Linked DNA regions of Homo sapiens: regions 1, 2, 3 and 5 are each linked to region 4. The links are contacts of gene promoters, found by promoter capture Hi-C in blood cells and fetal thymus (Javierre and others, 2016). All regions are on one chromosome and are shown on one strand. Each heading gives the region's core, a stretch centred on a gene start or on the middle of the fragment in contact. The rest is flanking DNA. Distances are from core to core; before and after follow the strand shown.

Region 1 (2,708 bases), core at 123-2,622, 2.6 Mb after region 4:
CTCTGAAGGCTTCATTAAGGAGTTTGGATATTGTTCGATTTTACTTTGAGAGCCATTGAAAGTTTCTTTAAGGTGGGGAGAAATGCAGTCAGGCCTGAATGAATAGTGTTTCTGAGATTGCCCCGTGTCCCCTATACCTTTTTTCTGAAAACATTTTCTATTTAATCATGAGGGAAGTGTAAACTCCTATTTTAGTTTTGTCTTTGCCTCTGCAGTGACTAACCCTGTGCTTGGTGGCATGGGTAAATAGGAAAGGAAAAACTTTCAAGTGGTTTTTACCTATTTGAAAGTTTCTTTATAGAGTCATTCAGAAAGTATCTGTGAAGTGACTGTATGTTTCATATTTTGTCTTATTAAGTCATATGATTAAGTCAAGATGACTTAATTATAAGGTTTTAAAAAAATCATTTGTAAATAAGCTCTAATAGAGAGATAAATTGCAAAACTAAAAATAGTACCAAGAACTCCCATATTGTCTTTACCCAGATCACCCATTGTTAGCATTTTGCCACATAGCTTCTCATTGGCACTCTCTCTCTCTCTCTCTGCACATTTTTCACTCTCTCGATCTCGATCTGTACATATTTTTTTCCCCTGAATTCTTTAAGGGTTAAATTACATACCTCATAACCCTTTATCCCCAGTATGTATTTCCTAAGAACAGAGATATTTTCTCACATAAAGGTAGTACAGTTATAGCAACTTCAAATTTAATATTGCTGTAAAACTTTTATCTACTATTCATATTCCAGTTTGACCATTGCCTTTTCTGTGTTCTCTAAACTGCACAAGTCCCACAGTCAATTATGTCATAGCACTTAGTAAATATTTGATTGTTAGCACTGATTTTTCTAGCGTTACAGTCTTAATTTTTTGAGCAGTTTTCTTACCTGAAGTTCGGTGCTTACCTCTCCCAAGGTGATTCGAGATGTGATAAATGTGCACATGGAAGAACTCAGCAATCATTGGCAAGAAGAGCAAGAGAAGGCAGAGGATGATGCCGAAAAGTACGTCATTATCTTTATTGGTGAAAATACTCTCTCTTTGATAACAGATAACAATTAACTTATAATTGTTAAATTTTAGCATTTCCAAAACCCTTGATAGCACACAGTAAACTCGTGAAAATGCTTTTTGTTTTTCGTTGTCAGTGCCCAGGGTTATTGTACCAGAGTTGTTCTGACATTACCCTTTGACAGTTTTCAGGGGATAGCCATATTAGTGAAATATTCAAATAGCAAAACATACTAACATTTATGCCTAGTATTCCATTATGGGAACACCAAGCATGTGGGAGTTATTTATGTCCTACTGCTCAAGGTCATCGCCAAGGTCTCATTGCAAAAATTAAAAAAATTGCAACCTCAGGCATAAATGGGTTAAGAGCTGTGTTTATTTGTCCTTTTATATGGGTTATAAGATTGTGCATATTTAGACCATATCTACCATTGGTTTGATATAGAATATTACACTTTAGACTGGTGTGTCTGTGTACGTATACTGGAGACCAGTGGTAACACAAACTGATTAACATTCTTTTCTGTGTTTTAGGAATGAAGAAAGGCGATCAGCTTCAGTAGATTCACGGCAGTCTGGTGGAAGCTATTTGGATGCTGAGTGTTCACGACATAGAAGGGATAGGAGTAGAAGCCCACATAAAAGAAAAAGAAACAAAGATAAGGATAAAAACTGTGAGTCGAGAAGAAGGAAAGAGAGGTGGGTCTAACCCTGCATCATCCAACGTTGAATTCTGTACTTTTTAAAAATAGAACAGGTTCTTCTGTTGTAGACCATGCTGAGAAAATAGATTTTAAGAATAAGCTAAAGTAAGGAGAGTAAACAATTGACGATGATTCTTAACATTCATTATAGTTCAGTTCAAATAACCACCACTCTAGTGACATAGATCTCTACATGCGTGATTGGATGTTTTTTTCCCTTTTTTATCTCTTACTTGCTTGCTTCCTAAACAGGACATATGAAAGTATTGTCTAGGCAGGACATTAACTGTTAAACACGGTTTTCCCAGATCCCTTTCTTCTGCTCATTCCTTCCTTCCTCTTTCTCTTATTCTTTCTTTCTTTTTCCTGCTAATTCCTCAAATAAGGGTATGTAGGGTCAGAGAGAACATCTAAATTTTGACAGTCAATTTTGCCTTTGTTAGTAAAATTTTGATAGCTTGAGAGATGTGAATTAATACCGAATTAGTAAATGTAAATCATTTGAGGTCTATTTCTGTAGTCCAGCTGCTTACAAGGCATGTACCTGGATCTCAAGTTCATCAGGTCTAGAACTAAACTTACCTTTTTCTCAATCTGCTCCTCTTTCCCCAGCATTACTGTCCTGGTTAAAGAGATGACTCTCATCTATTAACCTAAGCCAGAAATCAAGGAGTCATTTTAGATACTTCCTTCCACTCCTTATCATCTGGTCAGTTCCTAATGAAATGATGGTCATTTTCCTAATTTTTCTACTTGTCTCTAAATTTACTGCATATGATTCCATTCCCTTGTATACTGCTAGAGTGAATAGTCACCTCATAGAACTCTTCCGTGGCGGTCTGGCATGGTGGCTCATGCCTATAATCCCTACACTGTGGGAGGCTGAGGCAGGTGATCACTTGAGCTCAGGAGCTCAAGGCCAGCCCGGGCAACCTGGCAAAACCTCGTCTCTACAAAGAATACAAAGATTAGCCGGGTGTGGTGGTG
Region 2 (2,700 bases), core at 199-2,698, 2.4 Mb after region 4:
GGTGACTGAATGGGTAGGGAAAGGTTAAGTCCAGATTTGAATGACAAGGAGCTAATCCTGGCAAGAGCAGAGGGAACAGCATTTCACACAGAAGGGACAGCAAGAGCAAAGGCCCCGAGGCCAGAGTGCCTAGAGCACAGTGGAGGTAGTTGAGAAGATTGGTAGGGTGATAGAGAAGTAAGAAGGGGGGCCAGATCATGGAGACCTTTACAAGTGATGGTGAAAAGTTCAGATATTAATGTGGGTCTTATGGAAAGCCATAGGAGGGATTTTAGCAGAAGAATGACATTATTTGCTTGGTGATTTAAAGGAATCATTCTTTCTAGGTAGATGATGTTCATGGAGGGTGGGAGTGGAACAGAGAGACCAGTTCAAAAATAATAAGGTAATCAGATTCAAAGATGGTGGGGACTAGAGCCCAGATCCTAAAGATATGTCTTGGAGGTAGAAGTGGCAGCGTTTGGTGGTAGACTGGACGTGGAGTCTGGGGAAAGAGGGATGAAGGATAACTCCTGCCTAAAAGCAAAATGAAACATATTGGAGTTATTTTGGAATTCCAAGAAAACAGCTTGTACTTTATGTTTACAGTAAGGATTCATCACATGCGGATTTTGTTAATTATTGGGGATGTTTTCAATAAATATATGTATGTTGAATGCTTTCTGTGAGTCAGATCTAGTCTTAGGTGGTAGGGAGGCATTGGTAAATACCATCCTGAATGACACAGAGCTTGCACCCTAGCAGGGGAAACCGATATTATTAAATAATTAGACTATTTGTATTCGAATTGGGTAAGTAGTACAAAGGAGAAGTGGGGGAAAAATAGGGAAGACTTCCTTGAGCAAGTGATAGTGAGCTGATACTTGATGGATGAGTAGGGGTTAGCCAGAGAAAGAGGAAGGGCATTCCAGTTTTATGGTTACGGAGAAGTGTACAAAAAGCTTTAGAGAAGAAAAGCAGCAGAAGAAACACAGCCAGCATAGCTAGTGGGTAGTTAATGGTAATGAGAGGGCACTAATTTACCATCCACCCCAGGGTATTGTAAGGATACACCAGTGATTTTCCATTGGGGAAGATGTTGCCATCCCGACTTCTACCCAGGGGACTTTTGGCAATTTCTGGAGACGTTTTTGTATGTCACAGCTGGGGGTGGTGGTACATTAGTGGCATCTGGTAAGTAGAGGCCAGAGATATGCTGCTAAAAATCCTACAGTGCAGAAGACAGTCCCCCACAACGAAGAATTATCTGGCAAAGTTACAACTTTAACATGCCACTCTAGGCAATTATATATCAATCTGTGGAGCATATGTATGAAGTCCTGGTAAGTAGCAAGTGTTTGATGATTGTCTGTTTTCTTCCTCCACATGTCCACGGGGAACCCTCAGAGCCATGGCTAATTAATAAATTGGGATTGATAATCTGAATTTACTTAAACTCGTCTGTTTTTCAGCTGGTATCTCATATTATCAGCTGCTTTTTTATGGTTTCTGTCCTTTTCTGTACATGAGAGGTAAAAACTGAGTCCTCTGTTGAATTTGGCCTGCAGACATGTTTTGTTTGGTATGCACAATTATTTGTAAAAATTGACTATGCCAGTGAAGGGATAGATTTTACACAGAAATCCAGACTTACAGCTTCACTTGAAAAATTAAGATCTGGTAACACTAGGCCTGAATTCTAATATGGCAAAAAAAAAAAAAAAAAAAGCCCTTACTGGTTGTGCTCCCTTTACCTTGGACCTCTTCTCCCAGTTTGCCAGTCCCCACTTCTATTGTGCAGCCTACTTCTCTCATTTGTAGTGCCTGGTCCCTGTATTCACCATTTCTTCCCATCATGAACAGGGATGATTTGGATTTCTTTGTGGAACACAAATCTTGATGTAACTTCTTTTATTGCAAAGTGTTATCGAGTTCAAAGTAAGACTGCCTTAGACTTATTCCCAAATTTTTTGTCAGAAAGCTTTTTTTTTTTTTTAATTACAATTTTTTTTAGAGACAGGGTTGCCCAAGCTGGAGTACAGTGGCACGATCATGACTCACTGCAGCCGTGAACTCCTGGGCTCAAGCAATCCTATGGCCTCAGCCTCCCGAGTAGCTGGGATCAAAGGTGTGAACCGCTGCACCAGCCTTTTTTCCCCCTTTCTTTTTTCTTGTTTTACAGAAAGATTTTCCTAGAGATTTTCTAAAGCAGCTCTGCGAATGATTTTCCTAGAGTCAAGTCTGGTATACTGGTCTGAGTTGTTTATTCAGCAGAGAAGATAACAATATAATTTCTAACTTTAACAAGGCAGAAGCAGATTTAACTTGATGTGCTTCTTGAATAGTAGGCTTTGGGCATGGAGAATGAGCAAACAACTGCAACAGAACTGGAAAACAGGAGAACATGGTTTTAAGGAGATGGAGCTTATCGGAAGGTGTATTTTATATAAATATATAATCTTTTAGATTTATCAATATTTTAATATCTTACATCATAAATATGTGAGATCAGTTAGGGTATGTGGAAATATTGTTATGAAATAATAAAACATTGTTATTTCTAGTGAAAACAGAGACTTGAAGACAGTCAAAGAGAAGGATGACATTCTGTTTGAAGACCTTCAAGACAATGTGAATGAGAATGGTGAAGGTGAAATAGAAGATGAGGAGGAGGAGGGTTATGACGATGATGATGATGACTGGGACTGGGATGAAGGAGTT
Region 3 (2,700 bases), core at 143-2,642, 2.6 Mb after region 4:
TTACAGAAAATATAGCCATGATTGAAATCAAATAGTAAAGGCTGTTCTGGCTTTTTATCTTCTTAGCTCATCTTAAATAAGCAGTACACTTGGATGCAGTGCGTCTGAAGTGCTAATCAGTTGTAACAATAGCACAAATCGAACTTAGGATTTGTTTCTTCTCTTCTGTGTTTCGATTTTTGATCAATTCTTTAATTTTGGAAGCCTATAATACAGTTTTCTATTCTTGGAGATAAAAATTAAATGGATCACTGATATTTTAGTCATTCTGCTTCTCATCTAAATATTTCCATATTCTGTATTAGGAGAAAATTACCCTCCCAGCACCAGCCCCCCTCTCAAACCCCCAACCCAAAACCAAGCATTTTGGAATGAGTCTCCTTTAGTTTCAGAGTGTGGATTGTATAACCCATATACTCTTCGATGTACTTGTTTGGTTTGGTATTAATTTGACTGTGCATGACAGCGGCAATCTTTTCTTTGGTCAAAGTTTTCTGTTTATTTTGCTTGTCATATTCGATGTACTTTAAGGTGTCTTTATGAAGTTTGCTATTCTGGCAATAAACTTTTAGACTTTTGAAGTGTTTGTGTTTTAATTTAATATGTTTATAAGCATGTATAAACATTTAGCATATTTTTATCATAGGTCTAAAAATATTTGTTTACTAAATACCTGTGAAGAAATACCATTAAAAAACTATTTGGTTCTGAATTCTTACTAGAAGGTGGTCTTTTGAAGTTAGTCCTTTCGGTACTTCTCAGATGCCTGTCATGTACCCGATGGAGTCCTTGGAAAGAAGGCCTGTGTAAAGAGGCCAGCCTGGAGGTCAATAACCTGTTCTAGTTTATTCTGGACATTGAGTACCAAGTAGCATTGGCAAAAGTCATCATCATAGCATTGAAAAAACATGAAGTTGCTAAGATGCTTTTTGGGTATCCTCAAAATAGATAGTGTTTCACTTTGTCCCGTAAGAGGAAAGAATTGTCCTGGAACCCATGAAAATGATTTCTGAAGAGTTCTTGGCTCTCTGTTGAAGGACAAGGAAGTATAAGCCTATTCCTTTGGATCAAAGAGAAACTACTGAAATTCACACATTTGTCATTAGATTAACATGACTTCACTGAATACCCACCATGTCTAGTATTGGGTTAGGTACTATGAAGACTGAGTAGAATTTACAAGCCCCCGACAACAAAGCATTGGCAATATGGGTGGGGACAGAAACAGATAAAGCAATCAGTGGGACAACTTTCAAATGTCAGCAGTATATATTAATACAAATTTTATAGTACAGATAGAAAATAGGAAAACATGCTAATTGTATAGAACAAAAATCAAGATTAGATTAATTATTGGGGGCTTTTGGTACTTAGGGTGAAAGTCACCTCCATTCTCATTGCATGGGCTATTTTTCCTCCACAGCACTCTTTTCTTCCTTATTTCACCTCTTCTTCCTTACTCCCTCTCCTAATTTGGAGGAGTTGAAATTAATTTTATGCATTAAATACTGAGTTCGCGTGCCATGCATTGTGCCAGAAGCCATGGAGTCTGTGCTAGAAATACATGGTGAAAAAGAGCCCTCATAATCCAAAAGGAAGAAGAAAATGTGGTAAATGCTGTATTGGGAAAAATGAAGGAAATTCCTTATGCTAGAGCTGGGAGACTATATTAGTCACCTCACCCTGCCATAACAAGATGCCACAGACTGTGAGCGGCTTAAACGGAAGTGTATTTTCTCACAGTTCTGGAAGCTAAAAGTACAAGCTCAAGATGCAGGCAGGGCTGGTTTCTAGTGAAACCTGGCTCATGGGTGGCTATCAGTCTTATCTGATTAGAGTACCCACCCCTCCTTTATGACCTCATTTAACTTTAATTACCTCTTAGGGCTCTATCTCCTTATACAGTCACATTGTGGGTTGGTACTTCAACATAGGCATTTTTGAGGGACTCAATCCAATCCATAACAGAGGCCTAGCCTAGAACAGGAGTCTGGAGACCACTCCAGGAAAGTGATATCAAAACAGATCAGCAGCATCAGTGTAGAGCAGTTCCTCGGGCTGAAACAGTAACTAGAGAGTACAGTCAATTGACAAATCTTTCCTACTCCCTCCAGGCTTGTGCCAATGTTGTCATGAAGCTCTGAGATGACATGGGGCTGTATCCTGAAGAGAGGATATGTTTGACGTGGGCTAAGTTTTAATTTGGTTCACATATACAAACAGGGAAATATACACTAGAACTTTTTATCAGGAGTCATGTCACATCAGAAATAGTCTCACATTTTTCCAGACCAACCAGCTAACTATGGAAATGCAAATAAAAAGTAAGGATACCGGGCTGGGCGCGGTGGCTCACGTCTGTAATCCCAGCACTTTGGGAGGCTGAGGCGAGCAGATCACAAGGTCAGGAGTTCGAGACCAGCCTGGCCAATATGGTGAAACCCCATCTCTATTAAAAATAGAAAAATTAGCAGGGTGTGGTGGCATGTGCCTGTAGTCCCAGCTACTCGGGAGGCTGTGGCAGAAGAATTGCTTGAACCCGGGAGATGGAGGTTGCAGTGAGCTGAGATTGCGCCACTGCACTCCAGCCTGGGTGGCAGAGCCAGACTCCGTCTCAAAAAAAAAAAAAAAAAGATACTGTAGGCAGAGTATGAATACATTAACTTCATACTCCTCTCTTACCAGCTTCTAGCCACTTCT
Region 4 (2,833 bases), core at 240-2,739:
ATGTCCTGTTCCTTTCACTATTTTATTTTCAAGGAAATATAGTATAATTGAATATCCCTTGATTTGTTTACCCTGGTGTTATCCTGGAATGAAACAAACTATCTGTCGGGGCATAAGGAATTAATTTATGGACATCCAATTACTAAGAATCTATGTGCAAGCAATGGTGCTCCTGTATGTTTTCATTTTCGAGACAGAAAAATGCAACAGGCGAGTTAAAGTATACATCCCTGACTGCTGTGATGAGCTTGACATCCAAAATAGGTGTTAAAAACAGGGCAGGCTTCAAATGTTGCCACATTGTAAAAGTCATCACTGTCCCAAGGCTCAAACACCAGCCTGTTCTGACTGATCAGGTCACCACTTAACATCTCTGAAACACTGCTCAGTCAAACCTGAGTTATTAAGCTGATCCATTTAAAGTGTAAAATGTTTAATCCCCCATGATAAGGTTAGTTTCTTGAAGTCTCTCAGATATCAAATTAGTTCCAACAACCAATTTAGAAAATCAGTCGCTTCGGCCGGGCGCGGTGGCTCACGCCTGTAATCCCAGCACTTTGGGAGGCCGAGACGGGCGGATCACGAGGTCAGGAGATCGAGACCATCCTGGCTAACACGGTGAAACCTCGTCTCTACTAAAAATACAAAAATTAGCCGGGCGTGGTGGCGCGCGCCTGTAGACCCAGCTACACGGGAGGCTGAGGCAGGAGAATGGCGTGAACCCGGGAGGCGGAGCCTGCAGTGAGCCGAGATCGCGCCACTGCACTCCAGCCTGGGCGACAGAGCGAAACTCCGTCTAAAAAAAAAAAAAAAAAAAAAAGGAAAATCAGTCGCTTCCTGGGCCGAGCCTAGGCAGGATGCTCTGGTGAGATCCACAGGTACGCAGGTGGGAGAGGGATTCAAGCTGGGGAGGAGGCAGTGGTGGGGAGGAGGCGCGAGACCCGCCCTGATTTGGGGAAAAAGCGAGGTGCACGTGGCTGCCCCACAGCCTAACTCCCTGGTCCCGGCCCTGAACCTCGAATCCCTCCCTGGACTCACTCCCAGTTCGGCGGGTTGACACGAGTGAGCAGCCAGAACGCCCCTGACAACAGCTCCCTCCAGACTGGGTACCGCCCCCACGCCCGGCGCATCCTGGGAGTTGTAGTCCTGTAGCCCTGCAAGCCACTGGCTTAGAGCAGTTAAGAGACTACAACTCCCAGCAAGCCGGGCGAGGGCCCCGCCCCTCCGCGTACCGCCGGCGGCCCCGCCCCGCGAAGCCTAGCACTCTCCCCAAACCTCTCTCGCACGCGGGGACTGAGCACGGCCCGAAAAGCCGAGGACAGCCGGACTCACCCTGTAGTTATAGTAGTGCGTCTGCACAAGATGCCGGTGGCGCGACTTGTGGTTGCCGAAGTTGGATTTCTCGCAAACCAGTAAGTGCCGCGGCGCCTCCCGAAGCCGGCGCAGCGTGGCCATGCTCTCCTGGGTTCCTGGTCCTCCCGGCCTCCGCTGGCGGGGCACGCCCCGCCCCTTCCTCCCGCCCCGCCCCTTCCCTCCGGCCGCATACCCGCTGCTGTGCGCCCCTGGCGGCGGTGGAGTGGGGATGGCGGCGCTGGATTTCTGAGCAGTTCTTAGACTTCTTAGGAGCCCACGCAGCCGCTCTTTGGTGGATGTCTGAAGCTGTAAATTCACTGTCCCAGTGGCTGGGAACCTGGCTCTTGCCTTTTCAACGCCACTTTTCCTCCGTCCCCGCCATCCCTTGGAATTGCCCTAAACCCTCTCTGTGGGCCCCGCCTCGGAGCGCCCCTTGGACCCCAGCCTGGCGCCGGCGCATACCTCGGTCAGGCCCCTCAGAGGGACCGCTTCCTGCCACCGTTATAAAAGGAAAACATCGCATGGAAAGGCCCAGTTCCTTTAGTATATGGTCAAGAAATGTAGCCGCACAGTTAAGTAACCCCCTAAGCTGCTTTGGGGGCCACACCCAGCTGCTTTCTGACTTCTCACACTGTTTGGTTCACAGGACTCTGTTACCCATTGGGGACCTCTTGGCCATTATTAACACAGGCCAACAGGACTAAAAGTTTGTATCAGTCCTTCCCAAAACATTAGGGAAGGTTGTGCGGGAAGGTAAAGCACAATTTTTGCCTTACAATAGGACTCCTTTGAAACTACTATTGAGTTCCCTTTTAAATAGCCCTTCAGAACCGCTTTTAATAATGTGTTGTTTCTGGGGGTTAATAGTGATAATTCTCCTAAGTCATTTTTCCATTTCGTTTTTCTGTCACGGGCTTGGAGCGGTTAAGAGACTGCGGCTCCCAGCATGCGGTACGTTACTGATCAGGGCAAAATCAAGTATGTTACTACATGCTTCTCAAACTAGAGAGGCACAGCCCCAATTCTGCACTGGCAGGATACAAAACAGCAGAATATTGGTGATACATCTTCCTGGAACATCAGTTTTTCTATGAGATGTGGAAGAAATGGAATTAAGTAGTTTACAAGGTAAATAATTAAGAATTTAAAACTAAGCCAGTCACAGTGGGTCATGCCTGTAATCCCAGCACTTTGGGAGGCTGAGGTGGGAGGATCACTTGAGCTTAGGAGTTCAAGACCAGCCTGGGCAATATAGTGAGACCCCATCTCCAAAAATAAAAATAAAACTAAGACAAGGCTGGAAAGTCATCTGCCATTATAAACATCAGTAATCTGGCCGAGCACAGTGGCTCACGCCTGTAGTCCCAGCACTTTGGGAGGCTGAGGTGGGAGGATCACTTGAACTCAGAAGTTCACGACCACCCTGGACAATATAGTAAGACCCCATCTCAAAAAAAAAAATTAAAACTAAGACAAGGCC
Region 5 (2,788 bases), core at 34-2,533, 2.3 Mb after region 4:
TTTTTATAACTTGAAAATAGTTATAAATAGTTCTAAAACTAAAACTACATTTGTCAAGTTTTCTTTTAAAAAGCTTAAAGAGTACCAGCAAACGACTCCTAAAGTAAAAAATCTTGTTAAACCTGCAGATTAACTCATTAACAGTTGTTTAATTCTCCCACTTGGTTTTCTAGCCATTAAACAGAAGCCAGTCACTTCACTTTTCATCGCAAAACAACTCGTGAATACCTGTCACTACCGTTAAGACACACAGCTTGCTTAAACTTACAGAATGAAAGGGATGCTTAGTCAGACTAATTATTTCACTTTACAAATTAGAAAGTCGAAGTTCACGACAAAACCTGTGCAGGAAGTCAAGTTGCCATATTTTTATATTCTGCTAAGTTATTTTCACACTTAATTGCTGGGTTAATTGTTGAAAGAATAAATCTATGTATTAAAAACACTCGAAGTAGGCCACATTTTTTCAGCACAATACGATGTTTCCACAAACAAAAAATTGTTCCATGGAAAGACAAGAAGAGGAAGAAGGCAGAAGGGAGACATCCCACAGGGATTCTTCAGTCTGCTTGGCAGCAGGGGCGGATAACGGGGGTGACGATGGGGTAGTTTTTCTGAAATCAAGCCTCCTAGTAACACATACGGGTCAAGCAGGGCGTGAACAAGGCAGATGACCATTGAACAAGACACTCTGATGGCTTAGATGTGTAGAAAACAAGGGTTTTGGCAAATGAATGAAGACGGACTCCCGGCGTGGAAGCTAAAGACACGTCAGCCCTGAGCGCGAGGGGCTGGGGGTGGAGCGGAGCCGGAGGTGGCCAAAAGAAACAGCCCGGCTGCGGCGCGCTCGGAGCGCAGCCGTGTCCAGCGCCTCCTCCTGCAGCCGAGGACCCTCCAGTTCTGGCCGCTCCTGCAGGCGAGGGTCCAGGGCAAGAGGAGCAAGCCCAGCCCTCGGCCGGCCACGAAGCAAGGTCGCCCGGGCACGGCCCCGCGCTCCGCGTGCAAGGGGCAGGCCGCAGCGGGGTCTCCAGCGCCCGCGGGGACCCCTGCTGCTACGAGCCTAGGCTTGGGGAGAGGGCGGAGAGAGGCCAGCGGGGTGGACGCGGACCCCAGGACCCGGAGCGGCCACCGCCTCCAACTTCAAACTTGCCATCACTGGCATCTCCTTCCTGGCCATCCCCTCCGCACACTCCCCCAGCCTCACCTCTGGGGCCGCCTCGGAACAAGACAGTGGCAGGGAACACGAGTAAGAGAAGCAGCAGCAAGCGGGGGAGGAGTCTCATGGCGCTGCCGGTCCAGTGTCCAGTTTCCGTCGGCTAAGGCTCTCGGCGGCTCCGGCGGTAATGGCGTTACTCTTCATCCGGGCTCCGGGCAGCGAGGGGCGGGACACGTACCGCGCACGGGCCTTTGCCACGCCCCTCCCTGGACCAGGGACCGCCGCCGACGTGGCTGCTCAGCGCGGAGAGGTGGGGAGAGCAGGCCACCGGGAAGTCACGTGGCCGGCTGCTGCCTCTTTGTGGCTCCCGCGAGAGTCCGCCTTCCGCCGCAGTTGCGACCCGGCAGCTTGCGGTTAGCCGTTCTTTCCGCCCAGTTCTTTACTTCCAATTAATTAGCATTGTCAGTGGTTACTTTATTTGAATGACGATCCTCTTGATAACGGCGATGTAAGGAACATGAGCTGCCTTTATGTGGCACTTAAAAGCAAAAAATTTTGTTGGAAGAGAGGACATTGTTCAAAGGAAAAACCATGAAAATACACAGTGGAAAATCTTTGTCCCCTGTCTGCCCACACCCTCTCCCATGGTTAAGTAATGACAATTCTTAAATTATTATTTTTGAGACGAAGTCTTGCTCTGTCGCCCAGGCCAGAGTTCAGTGGCACCATCTCTGTTCACCGCAACCTCCGCCTCCCGGGTTCAAGCGATTCTCCCGCCTCAGCCTCCTAAGCAGCTGGGACTACAGGCGCGCACCACTACGCCCGGCTAATTTTTGTATTTTTACTGGAGACGGGGGTTTCACCATGTTGGCCAGACTAATCTCAAACTCCTGACCTCAGGTGATCCACCCGCCTGGGTCTCTCAAAGTGCTGGGATTACAGGTGTGAGCCACTGCGCCTGGCCAGCAATTCTTAAATTCGTATGTGACATTCCAGAATTATAAGTCACCTAAACAGTGTTTTGGTATGTAGTCAGCATTTGTAACTATACAATAGGTGCAGCAATGGCTGTCCAGTTTTCTTTAGTTTCCTTTTCATCTATTTTGGATTTGAGTTGCTGGAGTAATATAGCAGTTCATGAAATTAATCTGAATATTAAGTAATCTTGGTCTGGACCAGAGTGAGATGTCATAAAGATGAGGAAATAAATCATATGCTTACTATTGTCAATCACCTCCTTAGAGCTGTGCTTTTTCATTTAATTTTCTAAACCTCTCTATGAGCTGGATATTATTTACTGAGGAGAAAACAGACCCAGAGAGGTTAGTAATTTACTCAAAGCTTCAAAACGCTAGCAAACGGCAGATGCAAGATTTGAACAAGGCTATCTGGTTCCAGATTCCATACACTACTGACCTAGGACATTTGCTGTTCTACTCCTGCATTGTTTCCGCTTCAGGTCTCCTTGTCCTGGGGGCTGTAAATGCAGCTTGGACCCACTGCCACCACTACCTACAGTCTGCTAAAGTCACAGCCTGATGGTGCTGGGCTGAATCAACCAAATTCCACTCTGCCAGGCCACCAGTGGCACCGCTGCTGTGTTGCTGCTGCTACTAGGGCGCCCAGCATAAG

The links. Contacts are between HindIII fragments. The CHiCAGO score rates a contact against its expected background, and 5 or more counts as called.
Region 1: a fragment that was not itself captured here is called in contact with the fragment with the promoter of RPP40 in region 4 in 1 of 17 cell types (activated CD4 T cells); the score reaches 5.0 in activated CD4 T cells.
Region 2: a contact is called between a fragment that was not itself captured here and the fragment with the promoter of RPP40 in region 4, in 2 of 17 cell types (non-activated CD4 T cells and total CD8 T cells). The highest score is 9.5, in non-activated CD4 T cells.
Region 3: a fragment that was not itself captured here is called in contact with the fragment with the promoter of RPP40 in region 4 in 3 of 17 cell types (non-activated CD4 T cells, naive CD4 T cells and activated CD4 T cells); the score reaches 8.3 in non-activated CD4 T cells.
Region 5: a contact is called between a fragment that was not itself captured here and the fragment with the promoter of RPP40 in region 4, in 4 of 17 cell types (non-activated CD4 T cells, neutrophils, total CD8 T cells and 1 more). The highest score is 8.9, in non-activated CD4 T cells.

The regions. Positions count from the first base shown.
Region 1 is chr6:7,604,480-7,607,187 of GRCh38, forward strand. SNRNP48 (small nuclear ribonucleoprotein U11/U12 subunit 48) reads left to right here. Exons shown (of 9, transcript NM_152551.4): 7 at 919-1,007; 8 at 1,552-1,716. Among named protein-coding and RNA genes, the nearest start is that of SNRNP48, 16 kb to the left of the region's middle. The HindIII fragment of the contact is 3,945 bases long and covers 1-2,708 here.
Region 2 is chr6:7,390,556-7,393,255 of GRCh38, forward strand. It overlaps RIOK1 (RIO kinase 1), which reads left to right. Exons shown (of 17, transcript NM_031480.3): 2 at 2,544-2,700. Among named protein-coding and RNA genes, the nearest start is that of RIOK1, 2.1 kb to the left of the region's middle. The HindIII fragment of the contact is 1,019 bases long and covers 940-1,958 here.
Region 3 is chr6:7,585,994-7,588,693 of GRCh38, forward strand. DSP (desmoplakin) reads left to right here. Exons shown (of 24, transcript NM_004415.4): 24 at 1-721. Among named protein-coding and RNA genes, the nearest start is that of SNRNP48, 2.9 kb to the right of the region's middle. The HindIII fragment of the contact is 3,159 bases long and covers 1-2,700 here.
Region 4 is chr6:5,002,548-5,005,380 of GRCh38, forward strand. RPP40 (ribonuclease P/MRP subunit p40) reads right to left here and starts at 1,490. Exons shown (of 8, transcript NM_006638.4): 1 at 1,333-1,490. The coding sequence starts at 1,455. LYRM4-AS1 (LYRM4 antisense RNA 1) reads left to right here and starts at 1,269. Exons shown (of 4, transcript NR_126015.1): 1 at 1,269-1,412. RefSeq lists silencers at 1,091-1,340, 1,471-1,600. The HindIII fragment of the contact is 5,117 bases long and covers 1-2,833 here.
Region 5 is chr6:7,311,838-7,314,625 of GRCh38, forward strand. It overlaps SSR1 (signal sequence receptor subunit 1), which reads right to left and starts at 1,362. Exons shown (of 8, transcript NM_003144.5): 1 at 1,205-1,362. The coding sequence starts at 1,283. RefSeq lists enhancers at 526-1,394, 1,395-2,261, 1,598-1,667, 1,678-1,737 and silencers at 818-867, 998-1,107. The HindIII fragment of the contact is 2,424 bases long and covers 72-2,495 here.